Regions from separate parts of the Homo sapiens genome. Here all the other regions are linked to region 1. The links are contacts of gene promoters, found by promoter capture Hi-C in human tissues and cell types (Jung and others, 2019). All regions are on one chromosome and are shown on one strand. Each heading gives the region's core, a stretch centred on a gene start or on the middle of the fragment in contact. The rest is flanking DNA. Distances are from core to core; before and after follow the strand shown. Region 1 holds the start of GRIN2A (glutamate ionotropic receptor NMDA type subunit 2A). Region 2 overlaps LOC101927026 (a long non-coding RNA gene). Region 3 overlaps LOC101927026 (a long non-coding RNA gene). Region 4 overlaps LOC101927026 (a long non-coding RNA gene).

What was found. The method cuts DNA at HindIII sites, captures the fragments that hold promoters and counts their contacts. A contact is called where the count stands out against the background at its distance.
Region 2: a fragment that was not itself captured here is called in contact with the fragment with the promoter of GRIN2A in region 1 in 1 of the 25 tissues and cell types used here (dorsolateral prefrontal cortex).
Region 3: a fragment that was not itself captured here is called in contact with the fragment with the promoter of GRIN2A in region 1 in 1 of the 25 tissues and cell types used here (dorsolateral prefrontal cortex).
Region 4: a contact is called between a fragment that was not itself captured here and the fragment with the promoter of GRIN2A in region 1, in 1 of the 25 tissues and cell types used here (lymphoblastoid cells).

The regions. Positions count from the first base shown.
Region 1 is chr16:10,180,646-10,186,191 of GRCh38, forward strand. GRIN2A (glutamate ionotropic receptor NMDA type subunit 2A) reads right to left here and starts at 1,783. Exons shown (of 13, transcript NM_001134407.3): 1 at 1,232-1,783. RefSeq lists silencers at 871-980, 991-1,050. The HindIII fragment of the contact is 17,773 bases long and covers 1-5,546 here.
Region 2 is chr16:9,488,102-9,494,061 of GRCh38, forward strand. The region is part of intron 1 of LOC101927026 (a long non-coding RNA gene); the gene reads left to right. Among named protein-coding and RNA genes, the nearest start is that of LINC01195, 36 kb to the left of the region's middle. The HindIII fragment of the contact is 8,627 bases long and covers 1-5,960 here.
Region 3 is chr16:9,467,258-9,473,295 of GRCh38, forward strand. The region is part of intron 1 of LOC101927026 (a long non-coding RNA gene); the gene reads left to right. Among named protein-coding and RNA genes, the nearest start is that of LINC01195, 15 kb to the left of the region's middle. The HindIII fragment of the contact is 4,444 bases long and covers 1-3,616 here.
Region 4 is chr16:9,505,578-9,511,176 of GRCh38, forward strand. All of the region lies in intron 3 of LOC101927026 (a long non-coding RNA gene), which reads left to right. Among named protein-coding and RNA genes, the nearest start is that of LINC01195, 53 kb to the left of the region's middle. The HindIII fragment of the contact is 8,339 bases long and covers 1-5,599 here.

The sequences.
Region 1 (5,546 bases), core at 533-3,032:
TCCCCCAGCCCCTTCTCGCATCCAGCTTCCTCATCCCCTGTCTCCAGGCACTTCCCCATCCCCATCTCTGTCCATATCCCCCACCGCATTCCCCAAGTTCGCCGCGGGCCACAGACCCTAAGCGCCGCGCGTGTTCTGTACCCCACCAAGCTCCTAGGTGCACAGAATAAACCCTCCATCCAACCCCTCCCACCTGGGATAGAGAGGACCAAGTTATCAACCCCGCCCCCTGCTGGCGCGGAGCGAACTACAGACCCCGCAGGGCGTGCGGAGGCGGCACCCAGACCCCGCGTCCCAGCTTGAGAGCTCAGCTAGTTGGCTGACCCCGCCCCCTACGAGCCCGTCGTGTGCACCACACACTTTGCTCTACGCCCAGCCCCAACTACAGACCCGGCTCCTCTCAGTCAGAGTACACCCCAAGTGCTTGGGAGTGAGGACGCTGCCTGGTGGGCCCAGGCTCCGCTGTGCCTGGGGAACTTGGGGCTCGCCCCACCTCGAGCCAAGGGGCCGTGGAGAGTCCTTCACCCCTACACGCGCGCGTGCACACACACGTGCACACACACACGCACACACACATGTTCACACACACACACCCTCTCTCACGCGCGCCGTGTGCAATGCTGAATTCTGGAGAGTAGGCGCGTCCCCCCGCGGGCCAGCGCGTAGGAGCTGGCAAAGAACGTGCGTAGGGGGAAAGGTAGGCTCCCAAGAAGCTCCCAGACGGACGTGGACTGTACAGCCCCTCCCTAGCCTTTCTACTGCGGGCGCTGTTGCCAAGTCCTAGGTGCACGTGGGCAGTGGGCCGCACACGCTCATAGGCACGCGCGCTTTTCTGCGCACTTCCTCAGACTGCTGTAGCGGTGCCCACGGCCAGCCGGAGTCCTCACATGTCCTCAGGTGGTGCACACGCATGAACTGCGGCAGGTGCACAGCCCTGCGTACCTGCAAATACCAGCACGGTCGTGCACGCGTGCCCTGACGCGCGCCTCTCGGGACGGACGCTGCTGGAGCCGGGGGAAGTTGAGGCGAACTCCAAGAGGCCTCGACGTTCCTGGGTAAGCGCCGCGGAGCGCGGAGCCGCAGCGCCCCCTGGTGCCCCTCCTGCACTTCGCCGCTGGGCTCCCTCCCGCTTTCCCTCTCCCTCTCTAGCCTGATCCCTCTCCCGCTCTCCCTCCGGTCGAGTCTCCCTCCTCCCCGGCCCAAGGAGCCCTGATCTCCCTCTGGGACGTACCTGTAGCCCGAGAAGGTCGAGGATGCAGTGGGGCGCGCTGCGCGCACGAGCATCTCGGCCGCCTCAGCAGCCACCGGGTTTAGCGGGTTCCCGCATGCTGCGGCCCCAGCGCGCTCCCCTGGCTGTCCCGCGCTGTCCGCATCGCCCCCACGGGGGGCGGCTATCCCAGCCGGAGGCTCTGCAGCAGGGCTCTAACGGGGCGGAGGAGAGAAGGAGAGGCAGGGTCAGCCCACCAACGAGGGGAGGGAGGGTTGAGGGGAAGGCTGCAGTCTGCAGTGCTCACAAGCCCCCCTATGCGCCCAGGGGGGCTAGACAAGAGGGGGGAAGCTGAAGCCCGATGCCCACGACGCCCCCAGTGCGGATCCTCAGCCCCTGTGGCTGATAGCGGGAGCTCCACTCCAGGGTGCACAGGAGAATGGGAGCCCCAGGTTGGCCACCCACGAGAAGCTAACTGGGCACCTCCACCCGCACCCCCTACCACCTCCCCAGCGCCGGCTGCTGGGAGTTGTGCGACCGGGAGCTGCTGAGCGAGGGAGGTAGGGAGAGAAAGAGGAGGTAACGAGGGTGGGGGGGCGCTGGCTGAGTTTGTGACGAGCCAGCAGTAGGAGAGGGGGAGGGAAGGACGCGGGCTCCCGCGGTCCCGGTTCCCCGAGGGAGGTGGATCTTTCCCACGCAGCGACCCTCTTGTGATCCTGCCGCTTCCTCCCTCTTCAGGCCTCCCACCTCCCCCCTTCCCAAGGGGGCCTCCCAGGCCCGGCGTCCCGCGCTAGCACTCACCGCAGCCTCTCTCCACATAGTTCTCAGCAGTGGCCGCTCCTGGTCATCTCCAGGGCTGATGGCTGCGGCCGCGATTCTCAGCGCTCACCCGGTCCCATGATCCGGCCAAGCCCTAGGAGCTCCCCTCCAAGATCCCTAGCTCCGCTTCCTGCCCCACTCCGGACGGCAACTGCCCGGTCCTCTGAGCGCGCCGGAGCACCCTCTCCGCAACCCAGCTCCGGGCTGGTGTGTTTGAGGGCGAGTGTGTGTGTGAGTGTGGGAGCGCGCTCGCGTGTGGCCGGGGATCCCCGCGGTCCCCGGCCGAGAGAGGCGCGGGCGGGGAAAGGCAGCTCCCTCCGGGCCCTTCGCTGCTGGGCCAGCTCCGCGCCGGGCGTTCGGCTCCCCACTTCCCAGCGGGAGTCCGGTGAGCGCCTGGACACCCTGGTTCACAGCACTGGCAAAGCCGGGTTCCCGGGGCGTCTTTCTGCTGCGGTCGCCTCCGAGGAAGAGGAGAAGGAAGGTAGCGGCGCCCTCCACACCAACTTAGGGACTTGTTCTCAGCCGGCGAGACGCAGTAGCCCCCGCTCAAGCCCAAGAGGCTTCGAGCTCCGGCGGGCGAAAGCGTCTCCTGCCCGCAGCCTCTCTCCTAGGTGGGTCGAGACAGACCCCGCAGTCCCTCGGCGGCGACGCGGAGCGCGGCCACCCGTTCCGAGAGCGCACGGCGGCAAATAAGGCCAGGATAGGTGGCTGGCTGGCGACGGGGGCGCCTGCGGCGGCGCGCGCTGCTGTCCGTGGTGTTGGAACCACGCTCTCCGCCCGCTCCCGGGCGTCTGGTGCGGCTGAAGAATCAATTATTCAGATCTCTGCTACCGCTTCCTCCTCCCCCAGTGCCTCGCGCTGGGTACAGTTATCCCCCTCCACGCACAGGCGCGCCGACACACACACACACACACACACACACACACACACACACACAGAGTCTGCTCCAATGCTTCTCCCTGTGCCTCGCCACCCCCGTACGGGAACCCACTCCTCTGATCTCAGGGAGCCAGAATCCTAAAAGCAAAGACATCTGCATTTCCCACATGCTTCCTTCTAAGTTCTACCAAACAGAAGCCTCCCTGAGGCTGCCACTTCTAAGCTACCAGAAGAGGTGAGCCAGAGAACATGGGACGGCCCGGGTGTGTGAGGGCTTGGTTGACTTGAATTCTAGCGACTGGGCATGAAATACATGGTCAAGGGAGGAGCTCTGCCCCTTTTATATTCACCTGTATCTCCAACGCCTGTCTGCCTTTCAGGCCTTGGAAGGAAAGGGGTCTTAAATTCTAAGAGGTTTTGCAATGACTGTTCCAACCCTGCCTCCTCCACTTAACCTAATGTCACCTGCTGCGGTCTAAATGTGTGTGTTCCCACCCCCAAATTCATAGGATAAAATCCTAACTCCCAAGGTGATGGTATTAGGAGGTGGGGACTTTAGGAGGTGACTTCATGGCTTCATGAGAGTAAAATGGGATTTGTGGTCTTATAAAAGAGATGCCAGAGAGTCAGCTAGGTCCTTCCACCAAGTGAGACTTAATCAAGAAGGCATCGGCCTATGAACAGGAACTAGGCCCTCCCCAAATACTGAGTCTGCTGCTGCTTCATCTTGGACCTCCCAGCCTCAAGAAGTGAGAGAAATAAACTTCTGCTGTTGATGATGTTTTGCTATGGCACCTGGATCAAACTAAAATATCACTTTTGGACATTATATTACTTCCCTTTATTGATCACTAATCTGGAAATGGGGGGCAGTAAAAACATCTACTTCTCAGGATTATTTTGAAAAGAAAAGGAAGTAGCCTTAATAAAGGGGTCAACAAGGTCTGGCACATAGTAGATGCTCAATCAACATCATGCACCTTGAAGTAGCCTGGAAGCAGGGGAACTTCTTCCAAGAATGTGGATGTGGCTGCTGAAATGGAGACAGGAGAGGGGCACAGTGTGTGGAGACAAATGGATTCATTATTGAGCTGGTTGTTCTATGCTGGGTTTCCTGGGTTTTTGTTTTTGTTTTTTTTTTAATCCAAAAGACAGAGAAAGCGTGAGGGAAATGCTGGAAAGTAAATTAAAATGGGGGATTGTATAATATAAGGCAGGGAACAGGAAAATGTTTCCTTTCTTGAGTCTATGGCTGGGCTGAACTGATTAGGCCACTCCTTGGCACCCATGCAAGACTCTGGCTTGGGGTCTAAAGGGGAAGTTAGGCCATTTTATTTAAATGAGTTATAAATTATAGACAATAAAATGCATATCTCTCAAGGGTTTCATTTGTGAAGGTTTTTTGGTGTTTTTTTATTTTTTTGTTTGTTTGTTTTGTTTTGTTTTGTTTTTTTGACAGGGTCTCACTCTTGCCCTGGCTGGAGTGCAGTGGTGTGGTCGTAGCTCACTATTAACTTGAACTCCTAGGCTCAAGTGATCCTTCTGCCTCAGCTTCCCAAGTAGTTAGGACTTGTGGTGGTTAGCACATGCCACCACATCTGGCAAATTTTTTATTTTTTGTAGCCATTGGGTGTTGCTATGTTGTCCATGCTGGTCTCAAACTCTTGTCTTTACGAAATCCTCTGGCCTTGGCCTCCCAAAGGCTGAAATTACAGGTGTGAGCCACTGCACCCAGCCAGTTTGTTACTTTTGAGATTGTGTGTATCCACATAGACCGTCACGTAAAATGAGGTACAGAGTATTTTCATCACCACCAGGAAGTTTTCTTGTGTCCCTTTGTTGTCAATCCCACTCCCCCCATTCAGTGTAAACTACAATTTTGATTTCTAATACCATGTATTAGTTTTGCCCTTTTCTGAACTTCATATAAGTGGAATTTTACACTATGTATTCTTTGGTGACTGGCTTTTTTCACTTACCCTGATGTCTAGAAGATTCCTCTGTGTTGTTGCATGTATCAACAGCTTTTTTATTTTTTATTGTTGAGCAGCTAGCTCTCTATTGCATGGATAAGCCACACTTTGTGTATCCAGTCTCCTGCAATGGATATGTGGGTTTTATCTATGGGACTTTTTAAAATACAGATGTGGCTGGGTGCAGTGGCTCACGCCTGTACTCCCAGAACTTTGGGAGGCTAAGGCAGGAGGATCACTTGAGCCCAGGAGTTTGAAACCAGCCTGGGCAACATGATGAGAGCCCAGGAATTTGAAACCAGCCGGGGCAACATGATGACAACCCAAGTGTTCACACTGCTGCACTCCAGCCTGAGTGACAGAGTGAGACTTTGTCCCAAAAAAAATAAATAAAGAAAATAAAACACAGATGCCTATGCCCACTCTAGATCTACTCCATCAGGATCTCCAGGTGTGGGGCCAAGCACGGACAGTTATTTTAGATCCATAGGGGATTCTGATGATGCCTCTGCACTTGCTATTCTCATAAATTGATGCTGACCCTGAAATTGGATTTGTCTTTCTTGAAAAATACTGGTATTCAGGGTTTTAAGTTATTCATGATCAGACTTATAGAAAGATAAATCAAACTGATACGGCCTCTTTTGAATAGAGAAAGAAGGCAGCCC
Region 2 (5,960 bases), core at 534-3,033, 690 kb before region 1:
TGAAGGGAATTATTTGCACTACCTGCTGCACTTCATGAGTGGTCAAGATTCAGTGTTAGGTTTTCTTTCTGGTAATAATTGGACCCATCTTTTGGATGCCAGGCAAGCTGGAGGCGTTACTATGATAAAGCCCTTCATGAGTTTGCTCCTAACCTTGATTCCCTGAGCTTTTTCCCATTTTTCTCCCAAAGTTTAGTGTCCTCTACCACATGCTTACTACAGTGGAGAGCTCCAGAAGCTAAACTTTCAATATAGAGGTGGGAACACTCTTATTTTTTATATGAACTCATACTTTCTGTACAAGCCTTTGCAGATCCTTTCAGCATCTGAGCAATCATATAGCTAGAATTATAGCAGATGAAATCTTAGGGACCCCATGGTCCAACCTATTCCTCCTAGATTAGGACTAGAGAGGGCAAGAGCCTTGGCTGAGGTGTCCTGTGCTGCATGCATTAGTCCTATATCGCTGGTATGCTGGCTAGATCTTTGCATGCTGGCAGGTCAGATTTGAAAAATATTTTTTAGCTTGAGGATTTACAAGGGTGAACTCAGCTCAGTGCCAGTCGGAAGGCAAATTTTTGTTTTCTCTTAAACTATTGAGAAGTATGATTATACTTAAGGTCCCTGCTATGGGCTGGGTTTTGTCCCCGCAAAGTTCATATGTTGAAGCCCTAACCCACAGCACTACAGAATGTAACTTTTTGGAGATAGGGTCTTTAAAGAGACGATTAAGTTAATATCATGGCTGTTGGGGTGGGTTCTAATCCAATGTGACTAGCATCCTTATGAGAAGAGGAAATCTGGACATAGAGATACACCAGGGGTGTGTGTGCACGGAGGAAAGATCATGTGAGGATACAGCAAGAAGATGGCCATCCAGAAGCCAAGGAGAGAGACCTCCTAATGAAACCAATGCTGCGGACACCTTCATCTTGGACTTCCAGCCTCCAAAACTGTTGGAAAATAATTTTCAGTTGTTTAAGCCACCCACTCTGAGGTATTTTGTTATGGCGGCCCTAGCAAACTAATATGGTCCTCTTTACTCCTTATAGTAATGATACTAGTAGCTAATATTTATCTTCAAATGCATTTATCACTTAATCTCCATAAATTGTGTGACGTCAATGAAAGAATTAGCTTCATTTTACACATGAAAAAACTGAGACTAATAGAAGTTAGGATAGAGCTGGGCCTGTTGATGTTCCAAAGCCATGCTCTTACTATGGGGGTTGTTAGAGTAATAATGGGGTCACAGTAGTCAGGAATTCTCAGACAGGGGGATGATGCCACTGTGTCACTTCCTGTTTCACAGGAAGTAGGACAGAGCAATGGAGGGAAGCCAGATTTAATGTCAGAAGTCTGGACCATCAATTTTATCCCTTCCCATTGCCTCCTTTTAAATTTTAGTCAATTCAATAAATATTTTCAACTCCTCGTCTGTACCAGGCACCAAGCCACAGAATGGAGTTCTGGCAATGAACACTGCAGACATGGCCGCCTTTAGCCTCATGGAGCTTAGGGTCTGGGAGCATTGTCAGTTTCTGAATCCTCCAAGTGCTAAACTATCTTCTCTCTTCAAATTAGAGAAAAGAAATGAGACAGCAGGCCTGCTTCTTTGAGTGTTTTTTTCTTTTTTGTTTCCGTTTTCTGACAACCATACTTCACGTCTGACAGAGGAAATGATTCTTTTTGTCAGTGATAAATTTATGAGTTTTGACTGTTTGTGAAGTTCCCTAATTAATTCTTTATAGACTTCTATTGGCAACTGAATTTGTGTTTTGAGTTAAAAATGGGAGTTCAGATGAATTACAGTTGAACATTCTGCTCCCTTTGAAGAGCTCATACTCCACATTCTACGCTGTTAATCTCTCTGCTTACTGAGAGGCACCGTTTGTCTTGCAGTGACGCACGGTGGGTGGTTACCATGGCATAGGAAAACATTGCCAGCGCTGGCCCTGTCGTCATGGAACCCCTGGGCCATCTCCTGAGAAACTTGGTAAGGGCTCCCAAGCCGCCCATACCTCCTTGGCACCACAAGTGTAGCTTTTTATTTTGTGTGTGGGCAGCTTGACATCTGCACCTGACCAAGAGATTGATGTGGCTAAACAAATTTAGGAAATGAGCAGCAGTGGATCTCTGTTCAGAGAGGGAGGAGGAGAGAGAAGGAGGGAGGGAAGAAAGGAGAGAGGGAGAGAGCCAGAAAACAGAGCAAGATAAAGGAAGAGAATGCACCTGAAATAGACACAAGGATAAATGGATCAAGGAGAGAGGAGAAACAGATAATCACAACAGCGAATATTTGTTAAATGCATGCTCTTTGCCAGGTATGATGGTCGGGGCTCTGGCCGCATTATTGTATTTCTTCTTCATGATGACCCTGTGCAGTAGAAACTTTGTTATTTTCCTTACTTTCAAAGTGTAAAAACAAGCTCAGAGAGACTAAATAAATTACCCAAGTTCACACAGTTCTTCAAGTATGGAGCCAGTCTGCAAATTCAGGCAGATGAATTTAGAGGATACACTTTAAATGACTATGGTTGGGAGTCAGAGTGGGTAAGAGAATTATAAAGAAAGAGGTTGAGAGAATTGACACGCACATACACAGAGAGAGAAAGGGAGAGAGAGAGAGAGAGAGAGTGATTTACAGAAAGAGACAGTGTGAGACATGGGAGAGTGAGAAAAATACAAAGAATTTAAAGAAGTGTGTAGAAAGAGTCTGAGATAGTTGACATGCACACAGAGAAAAACAGAGAGGCAGAAACAGACAGACGGAGAGAGAAGACTTTTGCAAAAACAACAGAAAAACAACCCTTCCTTTATGTAAGACTAAAATATCTGAGAAAATAACAGCATGGATTCTGTGATTTTCATGGCAAGGCATTTTTGTTTTACTTAGTTTACATTATCATTCACACTGTGGAAACGCTGAAATGGAAGAAATAATTTGCAGTGGGATACAGCCAGTCTTTGGAGACACAGGTCTCTGAATTCAGAGCTCTGACTCCAGAGCATGTGTGTTTTTCCCGGAGTGTGGTGACGGCAGCATGAAAATTTTCAGGGGTGCGTGATAGGTGAAGGAAGGAAGCAGAAATGGAAGGGCTGAGATCATCTGAGTTTCTTTTACCCTCACAGAGGCCAACCTGAGTTGCACATTTTTCTTGGTCCTTCCTAGTGACATTTTTCAAGGTCCTTCCCTTGGTGATGAGCTCAGGGGAGCATTGACTGCCTGGGAGCCAAGGCTGTTAGCTATATTACACATGGCATCCCATTAACTCCTTACAACAGGCTATGTTTGAGGGATATAATCCTTATTATGTACATAAAGGAAAAGGGCACAGAGAGATTAACTATTTCAAGTTCACACAGCTTGCAGGTGGTAAAACTAGAACTAGAATCCTAGCAACCTATATCAAGAGCCCTTGACCCTAGGCTCACATTGAAGGCAAAATGCTCAGAGTACACAGACCCTGGAGGAGCAGCAGTTTTTCTAGGTATCCTTTACGGCGATCCTTATTTGCAAGGAGACTGTGGAGGGCATGTGCATCTATCATATGAGTAGGTCAAACCTCCATGAGTTTTAGTAAGGAAAACAAGTCTAAATTAGCTTGGACACAAACGCTAGGGGACTTCTAATTCCTTACTACGTGCAACCAGGCAAGGATGATGCCATCAAGAGTTTTATCCACCATCATCTTTGGTGCCAAATGCAACAGATTAGGCATTGCCAAACAGTTTCTGGTTCAGTCCTGCTACACTGAATCTGTAATGCTAGGGCTCAGAGAAGGGCAAGAATCCATCCTCTGTGTGTACTTGACATTGATTTGAGCTGTGATCAGTCAAAAGACCCTTATCACACAGATCAACATGGAATTTGGAAAAACAACAACAACAAGAATATTGGTGACAACAACAACAACGAGTGGGTCCCAAGAGCAGAGCACTAAGCTTAATTAACAGATAAGTACCTACTAGGGAGGAGAGGTGAAGTAGAAGTAAAATGCTTGGGCTGTGGAATAGCACAGACCTATATTTTAGCTTAGTGAACTCTTACAGTTATAAGCTATGTAACCTTAAGAAAATGATCGAACTTCTCTGAAATACAATTGCACTGCAAATCTTGTACTTTCACTATTACATGAAACACAGAAGCTAATTGAAACACAGTTCTTACTCTTGAGTAAAACAGGTAATTATCTACTTAACTATAGATCATTGATGAGATAATTATAGGTAACTATAGATACAGGTAATTGATGAGAACTACATCAGAGCTATCCCCAAAGGTTAGAAAAATTGATCAGGGATAGAGACGTCAGGAAGAGGTTCTAGATGGGACAAGACTTGAGCTGTAATCATCATCACTGTCATCATCGTCACTGTTGACAATATTGTTATAGGACCAACAGATGCATATCCTCACTGCAATTTAACAGACCAATACAGTGACACAGCAGGGTTTACAGCAGAGAAAGGCACTGAGTGAGGAAATTGGAGGAGACTCTGAAATCCATCTCCCCAAGGAGTTCTGGGCTAGGGTTTTTAAGGGGATCATGGAGGGCAAGGGGCTGGAAATTTGGGTCATTGGTTGGTTGGGGTAAGGAGTATGAAATCATCAGGACTTGGAAACCGCATTTCTTGATGAGTCAGTTTCTCATGGAGGCCTTCAGACCAGATGATGTCAATAGTTTCACTGATATGTAGGACCTAAAAGAATATCTCAATTGAAAAACTGAATATTTTATAATGTTCAAGTTATTATCTCTAGAGCAGTTAAGGGGAACTATAATCTTATAAGAGGGTGCGCATGATTCTAAAACAATAGACACCAAACAGCTATGAGCGAGCAAGCTGACCTAATGATGAATGCTGCGTGTACTGCAAACTTGGTTTGTTTTTGTTTTTCTCCCTTTCTTCTTTACTGATAGACTTTTATGCAGTATATAGGGACAATTTCAACATTAACTATCATCTTTTGAATATTAGTGGTGAGCCAGGATGCCACTATAGGATCCACGCATTCTACATTTACTTCTCAGAGTCACCCTGAATTATTTATCTCAGGTTACAGAAGAGGAGCCTAAAGCTAGCTTCAAGATGTATCTGGCACATGGCTGGTACTTGCTTAAGGTCACGGAGCTAGGAAAGAGCTGAGATTCAGGCTCATATCCACCTGACTGCAAGTTCAGGTAGACCTCAGAAAAGATACTTATTTATGGCTTTACTCTCTAGCTGAATTTCTAAAATGTTGTTTGTAAGTCTTTTCCCTTTAAAATTGAACTACATTTTATTATGGGCTTCTGTTATAATTTCAGGGATAATAAATCGTCATCACTGATCTCTTCCATTGCCCCCAGCTTTTCTAACCTCAGTTTATGTTATTTACGGTCACAGCGTTCTCTCAGTCACTCTGCCAAGTAGCTAATGGTGTATAAACACATGCTTAAGTCCACCCAGGAATGTTGTTGCTAGACTTCCCTTTGGTAGATTGAAAATTTCTATTGTTCTGAGAGTACAGGTCCCTGCATTTTCAGAAGAGCATGTCTGTCTATCGAAGCTGCATTTAATTGACATCAACACGTTGCTGCTGCTCTGCTGAATAATATTTTCCTGATTCCAATGGAGACGTCCCTCTGCATTAGTTATTAAGAATCTTTTGCCTTTCAATAACAAAGCTCATTTTGACTCAGCTTGGTCAAGAAGCAATTTATTGGAAGGATATTGTTGGAAGGATATTGTTGGAAGGATATTGCGTTTTAGAGAATCCAAGGAAATGCTGAACAACCAGTTCTAAAAATTGGGGTGGGCTCAGCGAGGGTAAAGGGAAATGGGCTACTCCAGGGGCCTATGGGAAAGGAGCTTATGGCTCATTCATCTTTAATTCTACAGCAAAATTCCTAAAGGTGAGTTAGGTGAGTTTCTTCTCTGTATCCACCAGCAATTTGTACTTAGTCATATGCTGA
Region 3 (6,038 bases), core at 145-2,644, 710 kb before region 1:
ACAGCTACGACTTACTGAGTTTTTACTTTGTGCATTTCCACCTCCAGCAGCCGCACTCGTTACTTTAGTAAGCATTGTAGATCCAATTCGTCCATGGCTAGTCTGGGATGAGCCAAGTTATGTTATTCTCTCACTTTAAAATCCTCTAAAAACCATCCTTTACACTTGGAATAAAACACAACGTTTTTACCATCTCCTAAAATTCCTACATGATCTGACCCTGCTTTCAGCTGATTTTCTCTCCCTTTTTCCTGCTTTCTGTGTTTCAGCAACACTGTCCTTCTCTTTCTTGAGCACATACATCCTTTCCTGCCCTAGGACCTCTGCACTTGCTGTTCCGCTGATGCTTCCTGACCCTTCCTGGGATATTCTTTTATGTGATTTTTGTATGTCTGTCCTGGTCTCATCCTTCAGGTCTTGTTCAAGTGTTAATTGCTTCAGAAGATCTCCCTTCAGCATTAAAGCCACTGGTTTATTTGACAGATACTGTCTTATTAGTGCCATTATTATTTTCATTTTTATAAATGACAAAATTGAGGCTTGGAAAAGTGAAATAACCTGCCTAAGGACCCACAGCTAGTAAGTAGTACAGTTGCAATGGAATAGAAAGGCAAGTAACTGTGCTGTTGTTTTCTATGAGGCTTGCTTACTTATCAGGGGAATCTTCTTTTGGGAAGTCATTTTAGGTTCAGATTGATTCATGTTGCGTCTCTTTCTCTGACGCATACTCAGACCGTGTTTGATTACTGGTGTAAGCAAACTTCCCTGATCAGAATGCTAGCCTTCCTCTTTTCCTGTGGGCCAGCACCTTTATCATTTATCTTATTACAAACCCAATTGGAAACAGCTCATGCTGAGGAGAGACCAAAATTGCCAACACTAAACTTTTCTACTTTCCAAAGCAGTTTGTGAAATAAAAGGGGTAACAATTTTTCCCCCTCAGGCCAATTCAGTATAGTGATAAGAATAGGTCTCAACACCAGGCACAAACAATATTTCCCTGTCGGTGTGGGATCTACCCTTGTAGGACCCCCATTCATCTACACCCTCACCCAAGCCCAAGCACTTCTTATCCACTTCTTTCCCCTTCCTGCTGCTGAGATATGTCCCTGGTTGAGACCATCAATGCCAGATGTTGATGGACAAAATAGCCATGAAATGTTTTTTCTCTTTTCACTGAATTCCCTGGGGACTCCTGGACTTTTTCCATGGGAGGCCAGAGAAAGAGCATTGGATTGGAATCAGATAAAACCGGGTTCAAAGCTCAGAGCTCCTACTCATCAGGTAAAGGACTTTGGGTAAAGTAATTATCCCTTTCTGAGCCTCAGCTTTCTCATCTGTAAATTACTGGCCTTACTGAGTAGTTAAGAAAATTAAAAGAGATAATACATCTCAGATTGCTTGGTATACATCGTACTGAGTGGGAGGGTAGAATGATCGTCAAAGGTGCAAGGTTCCATTTTTACTAGTTAAGCTGGTTTACCATGGGGAAGGTACTTATTTTCTTAGCACGTTGGTTAAGCTCATCTAAAATATCAGGATAGTTACAGAACATTTGTCATTAGGCTTTTGTATAAATTACGTAAGTTAGTTCATGGAGAGTTCTCTTTAGCCATGGCTGGAATGTAGTTAGTGTTCAACCAATACTATTATTACAATTGATATCAACTTTCTTCAAAAATGTCAGCAAATGGGAATTTTTGGTTATTGTGCACTCTCTCAATCTTTCTAGGATTTTAAGCTCTGTCCACATTACTGGAATGGAAGGAGATATGAGTAATGGAGACTCATTCCTCTTCACCAACCCCTGGACCACTTCTCTTAGGAGCTCTTTTCTGTTAGGATGAGTATAGGCCCTAAAGTGGCCTACCCCACAGACCCTCTGGACATGCCCTGACATAATCAGATACCAGAAGAAGCACAGTGGGGGCTTTTGACCCACAATGCTACTGCTCAAAGCAACTTGGAATGAGAGGAAGTGGGTTCTTTATGAAGAGGACCGTCCTTCCCCCAAATCAAAATGCCAGAAATCATACCACTTCCAGCCTTGACAAAGCAGCTGGCTTTGGGTTAGCCTCCCTGCTTTAAAAAAGTATAAAACTAAACAAAATTTATGCTTCTAGTCACTGGGTAGTAAGCAGCCCAAGACTGTGATCCTGGAGTGTGGGAAACTCATGAAGTAAGACCCACATCAGTGTGGTATTGGCTGGGACAATCTTTGGATCACGGTGCAGAGAGTTGGAGCCTGGGTAGGAAGTAGCAGTGCTACTGATCTGATGAGGCAGAGATCAGAGATCAGGACTGCTGAAGTGGCTGGAAGCTATAAGGCAGGGCACTGGAAAGGAGGGAGCTGAACAGAGAAATCTCAGTAAGTCTCTGTAGGGATTCTAAAGGATTCCTTGGCTGAGGGATGCACATGTGCAGAGCAAAATTATGCAAGACTTACCAGTGAGTCACTGTCATGGGCTGACAGAAGATAATACTGCAGGTTAATGAGTACTAGGAGATGTGAGAGTTGTGGTCTACCCACAGTTGAGAAACCTTGTTAACATGTTGGTCATCCAGATGAGAAACCAGGAAAAATACTCCTATGATGTGGGAATATATTATAGAGCAAGGTCTTCTCTGGATCTTCTCTAACAAAGCTTAAAATCTAGCCTGGCAAAATCTGCAGAGACATCAACATTTGGAGTTTGAGGGGCTTAGGAAAAACCTTGGGGATTCTATAGATCTACTTTAACAAAGCATAATGCCAAGACTACACATGTTAAAGGTGATTCCTCAGTAACTGATCCTCCTTAGAGAATAAAAATCAACATTCTTTAGAGTGAAAGAACCCAGAGTCTCTATAATGTTCCTTTATTGATGTCCAGTATACACTAAAAAATCACTAGACATGCAAAGAGTCAGGAAAATGTTAACCATTCATTGTCAAGAACAAAAGTGAGTTTATAGAAATCAATACCAAGATGATGGATATTATGAAAAAGAATATAAAGCATCAACTTATTGGTTGATTTTTAAATTTATTTAAAATAAATTTTATTGTGTATATTTAACGTATACAATATAATGCTATGGGTAACATACAGATAATAAAATGGCTGTTATAGTGAAACAAATTAACATATCCATCATCTCACAAATTATCTTTTTTTTGTTTTTTGTTGCAAAAACAACTAAAATCTACTTATTTAGCAGAAATTCCAAATACAGTACAATTTTATTACCTATAGTCTTCATGTTGTACATTAGACCTTCAGACTTCTTAGTCCTATATATGTACTATCTCATATCAGCTGACTTACATTTCCTTATTTCTTCACTACTCCTTTTTCTTGTCCCTGGTAATCAATATTTTAATCTCTACCTCTATATATTTGACTTTAGAAAAAATAATTTTATAATATTTTTCTTTCTGTGCCTGGTTTATTTCACTTAGCATAATGTTCTTCAGGTTTATCCATGTTGTGCAAATGGCAGGCTCTCCTTGTTTTTAAAGCTAACTAGTATTTCATCATGAAATAAGTTTCTTTATCCATTTGTCCACTGATGGACATTTAGTTGTTTCATACTTGGCTATTATGAATATAAAGCATCTAATTAGATATATTCAAGAACTTAAAGGGAAATATGGCCCTTCTGGGTAAACAGATAAGGAATATCAACAAAAAATGGAAATTACATAAAAAACATGAAAATTATGAATTGAAAAGTATTGTAATTTAAATTAAAAATTCACTAAATGGATTTGATAACAGATTGGAAACCCATTTGTGATGAAAAACTCTTAGGAAATTGAAACAGAAGGGAACATCTTCTATTTGATAAGCAGCATCTATAAAAGCTGTACAGTTAACATACTGTTTAGTGAATGCTTTTGCCCCCACCCTCCACAATATTAGAAACAAGGCAAGAATATCTTACCACTATTAAATTTTTTGCTAGATGGGGGAACTAGTTAGTGCAACAAGGCATCAAAAGTAAGAACAAAGGTATGGAAATTTGAAAGGCATAGTAAAATTTTTCTCTATTTTCAGATGACATGATTGTCTACATAGAAAATTCTACATAAAATTCTAGACATAATAAATGAAATTAGCAAAGTCAAAAAATTCAAGGTCAATATAAAAATCACTTGTGTTTAAATTTGTTGATCATAAGGAACTAAAAAATGAAATTTAAATATCATTTAGAAGAAGATCAAAAATAAAATATTTAGGAATGAATTTAATGAAAGATATGCAAAACTTTAATAGTAAAACCAATTAACATTGCTAAGAGCAATTGAAAAGGAAAAAGAGGGGAGATTGAGAGAGATACCATGTTCTTGGATTGGCATATTCAATATGATTGTGGTAGGTAGACCTCTAATATGGCTTCCAATGATCAGCATCTCCTGGTATTCACGTCTTACGTAATCCTCTCCCTTTAGTATGTGCTGAGTCTAGTGACTTGCCTCTAATGAATAGAATATGGCAAAGATGATAGAATGATTCTTCTGAGATTAGGTTCTAGAAGACTGACTACTGTCTTCTTCTAACTCTCTCTTGCTTACTTTGATGAGGCCAGCTGCCATGGTGTAAGCTTCCTTATGGAAGGATCCACATAGCAAGGATTTGAGGGTAGCCTCCAGCTCACAACCAATAAGGGTGAGACTGTCAGTTCAACAACCTGTGAGGAACTAAATCCTGCCAATAACCACTGAGTGAGCTTGGAAATGGATCCAGTCAAACCCTCAGATGACTGCAGTCTAGGCCACCTAATTGCATCCTTGAGTGAGACCCTGAGCTGGAAGACCTAGCTAAGTCATGTCCATGTTACTGACCCACAGATAATCTTCTGAGATACTAAATGCTGTCATTTTGTGTTTGGAGATTTTTTTTTATGTAGCAGTAGATAACTAATAACATTGTTATTGTATTGTTCTCTCCAAACTTACCTATAGTCATAATCCCAGTCAAAACCCAAGCAGGCTTTGTAGAGTACAAAAGATGTAGAATAGCCAAAACCATTTGAAAAACAAGAGAGAAATTAGGGAAACTGCACTACTCAATTTCAAAGCTACCATATCAAGACTGTAAAAGTTTTGAAATAAAGCTACAGTATCAAGACAGTGTAGTATCGGTGTAAAGACAGAGTCTAGAAATAACCCACACATATGATCAACTCATTTTAGACAAAGACTTTAAGAATTCACTTGGATAAATGGGGTGTTTTTTTAACAAATGGTGATAGAAAAAGAGGATATTTAGAGAGGAAAATGTGAGCCTTGGTCTCTGCTTTACACTATACACGAAATTTCATTTACAATGTATCACAGACCTAAATATAAATGCTTAAATCTGTAAGAAGAAAACATAGGAGAAAAATCTTATGATTAAGACTTATGACATAAGACTTACATCTTATGACTTCAGACTTATGACATGAGACTTATGCCTTATGACTTAAGATGTCTAAAATTAAAAAGAATGACTATGTCAAGTGTTGTTGAGGGTATGAAACAACAGGAACTTTCTAATGGTACGACCACTTTGGAAAAGAGTATGTCAGTGAAAACGTTAAATACACACTCATAAGTTAAATACACACTCATAAGACTCAGCAGTTCTGCTCTTGGCTATTTATCCAAGGTGAAATAAAAATGTACATTCACAAACAGACTTGTACCTGAACGTTCACTGCAGCTTTATTTCTAACAGTCAAAAACTGGAAAAAACCCAAATGTCTATCAACAAGTGAGTGAAAAACAATTTTGGAATAGTACTGTACAGTTAAAATGAACATCCTACTGTTACATGCAAGAACCATGACTGGATCTCGAAAACAGCCTGGGTTAAAGAAGCCTTACATTGAAGAGTAAATACTGTATGATTTCACTTTAAAAAGTTCTCGAATCAGCAAAAATTATCTATGGCAATAGAAATAACATCAATAGTTGCCTAGGGTGGAGAGTTGAGGATTTATTTCAAAGGGGCAGATGGTAACTTCTGGGGTGATGAAAGTTTTCAGTGTCTTTTTTCTTTTCTTTTCTT
Region 4 (5,599 bases), core at 2,843-5,342, 670 kb before region 1:
ACCCTTACTGTGCATTCTCTGTAGACTGGCCAGGAAGTGCTACACACTTTTAAACAACCAGATCTCATGAGAACCCATTCACTCTCCCAAGAACAGCAAGGGGGATGTCCACCTCCATGATTCAATCACCTCTTACTAGGCCCTTCCTTCAACACATGGGGATTACAATTTTACATGAGATTTGGGTGGAGACACAGAGCCAAACCATAACAGGGTATAACAAGTGTGTCTGACCTTCCCATCCTATCATGGCTGATAACTCAGTTTTCAAATGGGGTCTCCTTGTCCAAGAGAAGATACACTCAGTTAGTTGAGGAGCTTAGAATTTTATTTTTAGTTCCTATTCTCCCCCTTTTGTCCAAGATCTGCCGGAGGCAGCATCAATGACTAAACTTCTATTTTCTTCCCTATCTTTGTGGGGTAGTGTGGCTGCTTGCCCTGGGTCCATCTTGTTCTTCAATGAGACTCCTATGGCCAAGGGAATTAGAGCCAAAGACTTACGGCCAATTAAACTTTCTACGACAGGCAGGAATGGAGGTGGGCAGAAACCCATCAACTCTTAAAACCTTTTAAGCAACATAAGAGCAAAAAAAACAAAGCCAAAAAGCCAGATTATGGAATTGACATATCCATAAATTCTATGTGTTGAGCTACTGTAATCTTGGTTTTAGTAACAGACTTGTAGTAATTAGGTATATGAAACATAAGCATTTTGCTAAAACCATTTAAGCTAAGGAATGTAGAGTTTTTTGTTGTGCCACGATGCATTTTACAGTCTCTTTAGCAATTTTTCCTAAGGTGGCCAAATTTTTAAAAATCATATCTCTATTTGCATAAACCCTATAACTGGGAACAACTGGTGACGAGAAGACTCTGTCACCAGGTATCTTAATATCCTGTTGGTAATTCTCTTTTAAGTTTATGGGAAATTTGTAGTTGGCATGGATGAAAATGGGCCACATAATGACCCAGGAGGCAAAGTACTTGAGTCTATTAGCTCTTTAGGCATCTGTGTGTCTGTCCTTGATTTGGAGGGTCTGAAGTAATTCTGTCCTTCAAAACCAACCCTTACAATGTCACCTGCCCACCTCTTCTGCAATAGCCCATGGTCCTAGAGAGAGGCACATTATATTTTAACCCAACACTTTATTATTCCAATTAAATGTTCTTAGTGTTGCCCAAGTGGACTGTGATCTACTTGAGGTCATGGTCTGGGTCTTATCCAATGTCGTACCCAAAAATGTCTACTATATAACAAATATTTGACACATGATAAGAAAAAGGAGTTGGTGATTTAATAAATAAATAAAATGTAAGGATGATTTTACACATTTTATATTTCTTACCATTTTCCCATTTGAAGTACATTTTCCAGAAGTCAAGAAATATCCTTATGTCCACTGAGACAAAAGATTTTAGTAAAGCAGCTCTGTCTAATCATTCAGTCAAACATGAGCCTCAATGCTAAGATCATCATCAATTTTTGGAAAGACTATTTTGGACTATGTGAAATTTTAAGAAGTACCTAACCTGGAGACATAATCAAGTCCAGTGGTTCTCGAACCAGCTGCCTATTGGAGTCATCTGGCAATGAGAGTGGTTACCATCTAACCAACTGGCATATACATTCACTGTAAGCCTACTATGTAGCATGGACTAAGAAATTTACTGTATTGTATAAGTTAACAGAGGAATTTCTCATTGTATAAACTCAGAAGTTCATTGTGTTCTGAGCTCTGAATATAACCTCTCCTCCTTTTTCTTACTTATCACGCATCATTCCACAGACTCATCCTAAAAACTGCAAATCACTCTCTTTGCAAAAGTTGGGGCAAACCCCATCACTATAAAATACTGTATTTTCTATTTTTTTCCTAATTGAGTATATCTCATCTCCTTATGGTAAGCCTATTCATTATGCCTTTTAATAAAGACCAAGAAAGAGAATAATAACTTTTTAAATTGACTTTTTCAATTACCATTTGGCATGCATGTTTTCATGCTGTTGTTTTGAGGATAAAAATGTTGATAGTGGAAATATATTATTGATTCCTGCCTGTTCTTCAGGCTCATGCACTATTGATTAAAGCCCTTCACAGCCTCAACCTTTGCTCCTGCATCCCAAGAGAGCAAATTTGTAGAGCTCCCAAGAACTAAAACTCTGGCTTGGAGATTTTGATATTTGGTGAGCCAGGAAGACTGGAGAAGATTAGAAAGTTCTTATCAGTAAATATGAGAGGCCTCAGTTGGGAGATGGAAGGAGAGCAGATTGAGCTGATGGTAAGGTCTTGGATACTAATGCAGTTAACTCCAGTTCAAAGATTGCCATTTTTTTTTCCTGCATGCATTTCTGTATATGGCTCTGGAGTGGTGGTGTGGATGCACAACTTAGCCCTCTCTGTTGCAAGTGGCAGAAACTCCACTCCAGCCAGCATAGGCAAAGCAATGGGGGCTTTCTTAGCTTAAGTGACTAGGGATAGCAGAGGTAGAGTAATTGGCTTTAGGGACAACTGGATCTGGAAATTTGAAGACACTTATCACTCTTCATTTTCTCCTTTCTTCTGTATTTTGATTTCACTTTCCATTTGAAATACATTTTCCAAAAACAGGTAGGCTTCTCCTAGTGGGCATTCTTCTTTCACAAGACTTTTAGATTCAATCCCTTCCTCTTCTTTCTTGTAATTGTATCCCTCACTCAAATCCCCAGGACCTCATGACTTATTGATTACATGAGCTTTTAAATTGGTGGCTTTGGGCCCAATTTCTTCCCCTTGCAAGATCACGTAGAAAGAACAATGCGAGGCTCAAGTTCTGGCATTGCTCACTAGTAGCTCTGAACTACTAAGAACCATTTAACCTCAGTGAGTTTTAGTTCTCCTCTCTGTCTTTGTCCACTTTATATGGCTCAGATGAGGATCAAATGGGAACACGTGTGTTGTAGACAGTACGTGGTGATGAAAACAAGGTGACTTTCTCACCCCTCCCAACAACTAGCCTGGATATTAGAAAAGAGTCAGCAAACCATGAAATTAATACACAATGGGTCAGGGTTAAGATAGAAAAAACAAATGAGCTCAAGTTCCTAGGCTGAGAGAGACTTAGTTGTAGTTGTTCATAGCTAAAGACAATGTGGTCTATAAAAAGAAGCACTGGTCAGGAAGAAACATGTGAAATAAAGAGTGTCCGAGAGATAATAAATTGTAGCACTGCTAATTCAGGGTAGAGTGTGTCTTTGTTGATGGACTTTGAGTATTAGGGCCCTGTGGGAAGGCTCTTATGGTGTGCAAATGGATGCAGTCAGTCTATCAGAGCCTGATCCCGTTACACATGGGGAATAATCCAATGGACCCATCCATGCTTGTTAATACTCAGTCCTGGTGAGGCTGAGATACAAGGAGTCTCACTTTCATGGGTAGCTGGTATGCAAGCACTGGTACATCTTTTCTGGAGGGACAATTTGCAGTGTGTATCAAGAGACTTGAAATGTTCATGCTTATGACCCAATGATGCCACTGCTGGGAATATGGTCACAAATGGGTGATACAGTTTTATATAGGGAATATTAATCACAGGGTCATTTGTAATAGCAAAAGGTTGACCATAGGGGAATAAGTAAATTTTTTGACCATAGGAGAATGAGTAAATTTTTTGGCCATAGGGGAATGAGTAAATTCATCATGGGGCCATCGTAAGAACAAATAATATTAATTTGGAGGATACAAAATGGCATGAGGAAATACTCATAAGTTACATCATCTAAAGATACCTTGCATAATTTTCGTCTAAAAACCCAAGTAGCCGTAATGTCAAGTGAGTAGGAGTAAGATATAGTACTTTGATATAATGTGATCCAAGATTTAATAGGTGACTTTCACTGTGGGTATTTAAACTGTTTGGTTCTGAAGATGACCCTCACCCAGGGCCAGATGCAGTGTGTTTGTGGACGTGTGTATGTGTAAAAATGGAAGGAAACAATAACTTATAAAAGTGAGTCAGATGTTTCCTGTTTTCTTGCCTTATGATCTCAGGCAGATTATCTAACAATACTGAGTCTCTGCTTTTTGTGTTTTAAATCTAAAATAGGGCTAGTAATACCTTCTCTCCAAGGTATCTAAGAATGGAATGAAATCGTGTATTTTTGAGTAACACAGTCCTTACAGATGTGGGTTCTGGAGTCAGACTATCTGGGTTGAAATTCTACCCCCACCACTTATTAGCCGTGGGATCTTAGAGAGGTGACATCACTTCTCTGTGGTGGATTGCTGCAGTAATGGCCTCAATACATCCAGACTTCTCTCTGCCCACACTCCTGGAAAGTACTTTTCTGCAATGTCTATGGAATGAGTCATGTGACTTGCTTTGCCAATGGGACAATGGCAAATGTGATGCAATGGAGACTGGAGAGGTGCTGTGCACTTGTCCCCTTGCTGCTTTGGGACCCTACTGCCATGTGAAGAAGCTCAGGTGAGCTGGCTGGAGGTGGAGAGAGACAGGTGTCTTGTCCTTGAGCCAACAGCCTATCCACAAGCTGAACACAGTTGCATGAGAGAGCCTGACTGAGATCAGCTGAGCTGGCCCCAGATCAGGAAAAACCCTCAATGGATTCACAGAATCATGAGTTAAATAAATGCTTGATTCTTTAAAATGTTATTTTAATTGACAAAAAGTAATTGTATATATTTATGGGGTATAATGTGATATTTTGATATGTGTATACATTATGGAATACTTAAGCTAATTAACATATCCACCACCTCATACTTATCCATTTTTTTTGTGGTGAGAACATTTTAAATCTACTCTTTTCACAATTTTGAAATATACAATACATTATTATTAACTATAGTCACCATGTTGTGCAATAGATCTTTAAAACGTATTCCTCCTGTCTAACTGAAATTTGTGCCCTTAGAGAGAGGAACAGTGATTGCCAGAGGCTAGGAGGCTGGGGTGGGAAATGGGGAAATGCTTGATTTGTTTTGAGCCACTATAGTCTGGGGGTGTTTGTTACTCGGAATAGATAACTGATACACTGTCTATGCCCCATTTTTTCTCATATAAAAAATGGCACCTACTCTACAAGATCGCTGTTAGAGTTAAATGAGATAGTATGTGCACAGTACCTAGAAGAGGGCTGACACATGGTGCATAAAATATTCTACCATGGCATGAAGCACGTAGTGTTTGGGGTGTTTAGTAGGCACTCAATGAGTGTTAATTATTTCCCTCTTCTCTAGAATGTGCTCATTGATGAATTGAACAGAAGTTCCAGTTAACGAGGAGGTGGAGGTTGCAGTGATCCAAGATCACTCCATTGTACTCATGTCTAAGCAATAAGCGTGAAACTCCGTCTCAAAAAAAAAAAAAAAAAAGTTCAAGTTAAATCACAGACTGATTTTCTACTAAGAGAAATCCATGGGATTTCCACCAACTATGTTTAACTCAATCTGAAAGTGTCCCTCGTCTTCTGGCAAGACCCTTGAATCAAGCTGTTGAAGAGACTCTGGTGTGATCAATGCCCACCCAGCTCTTTCTGATCCCACCCTCAGAGACAGCTGAATGATTTGTGTACAATCACTTTGAACATCTGGGCAGGAGG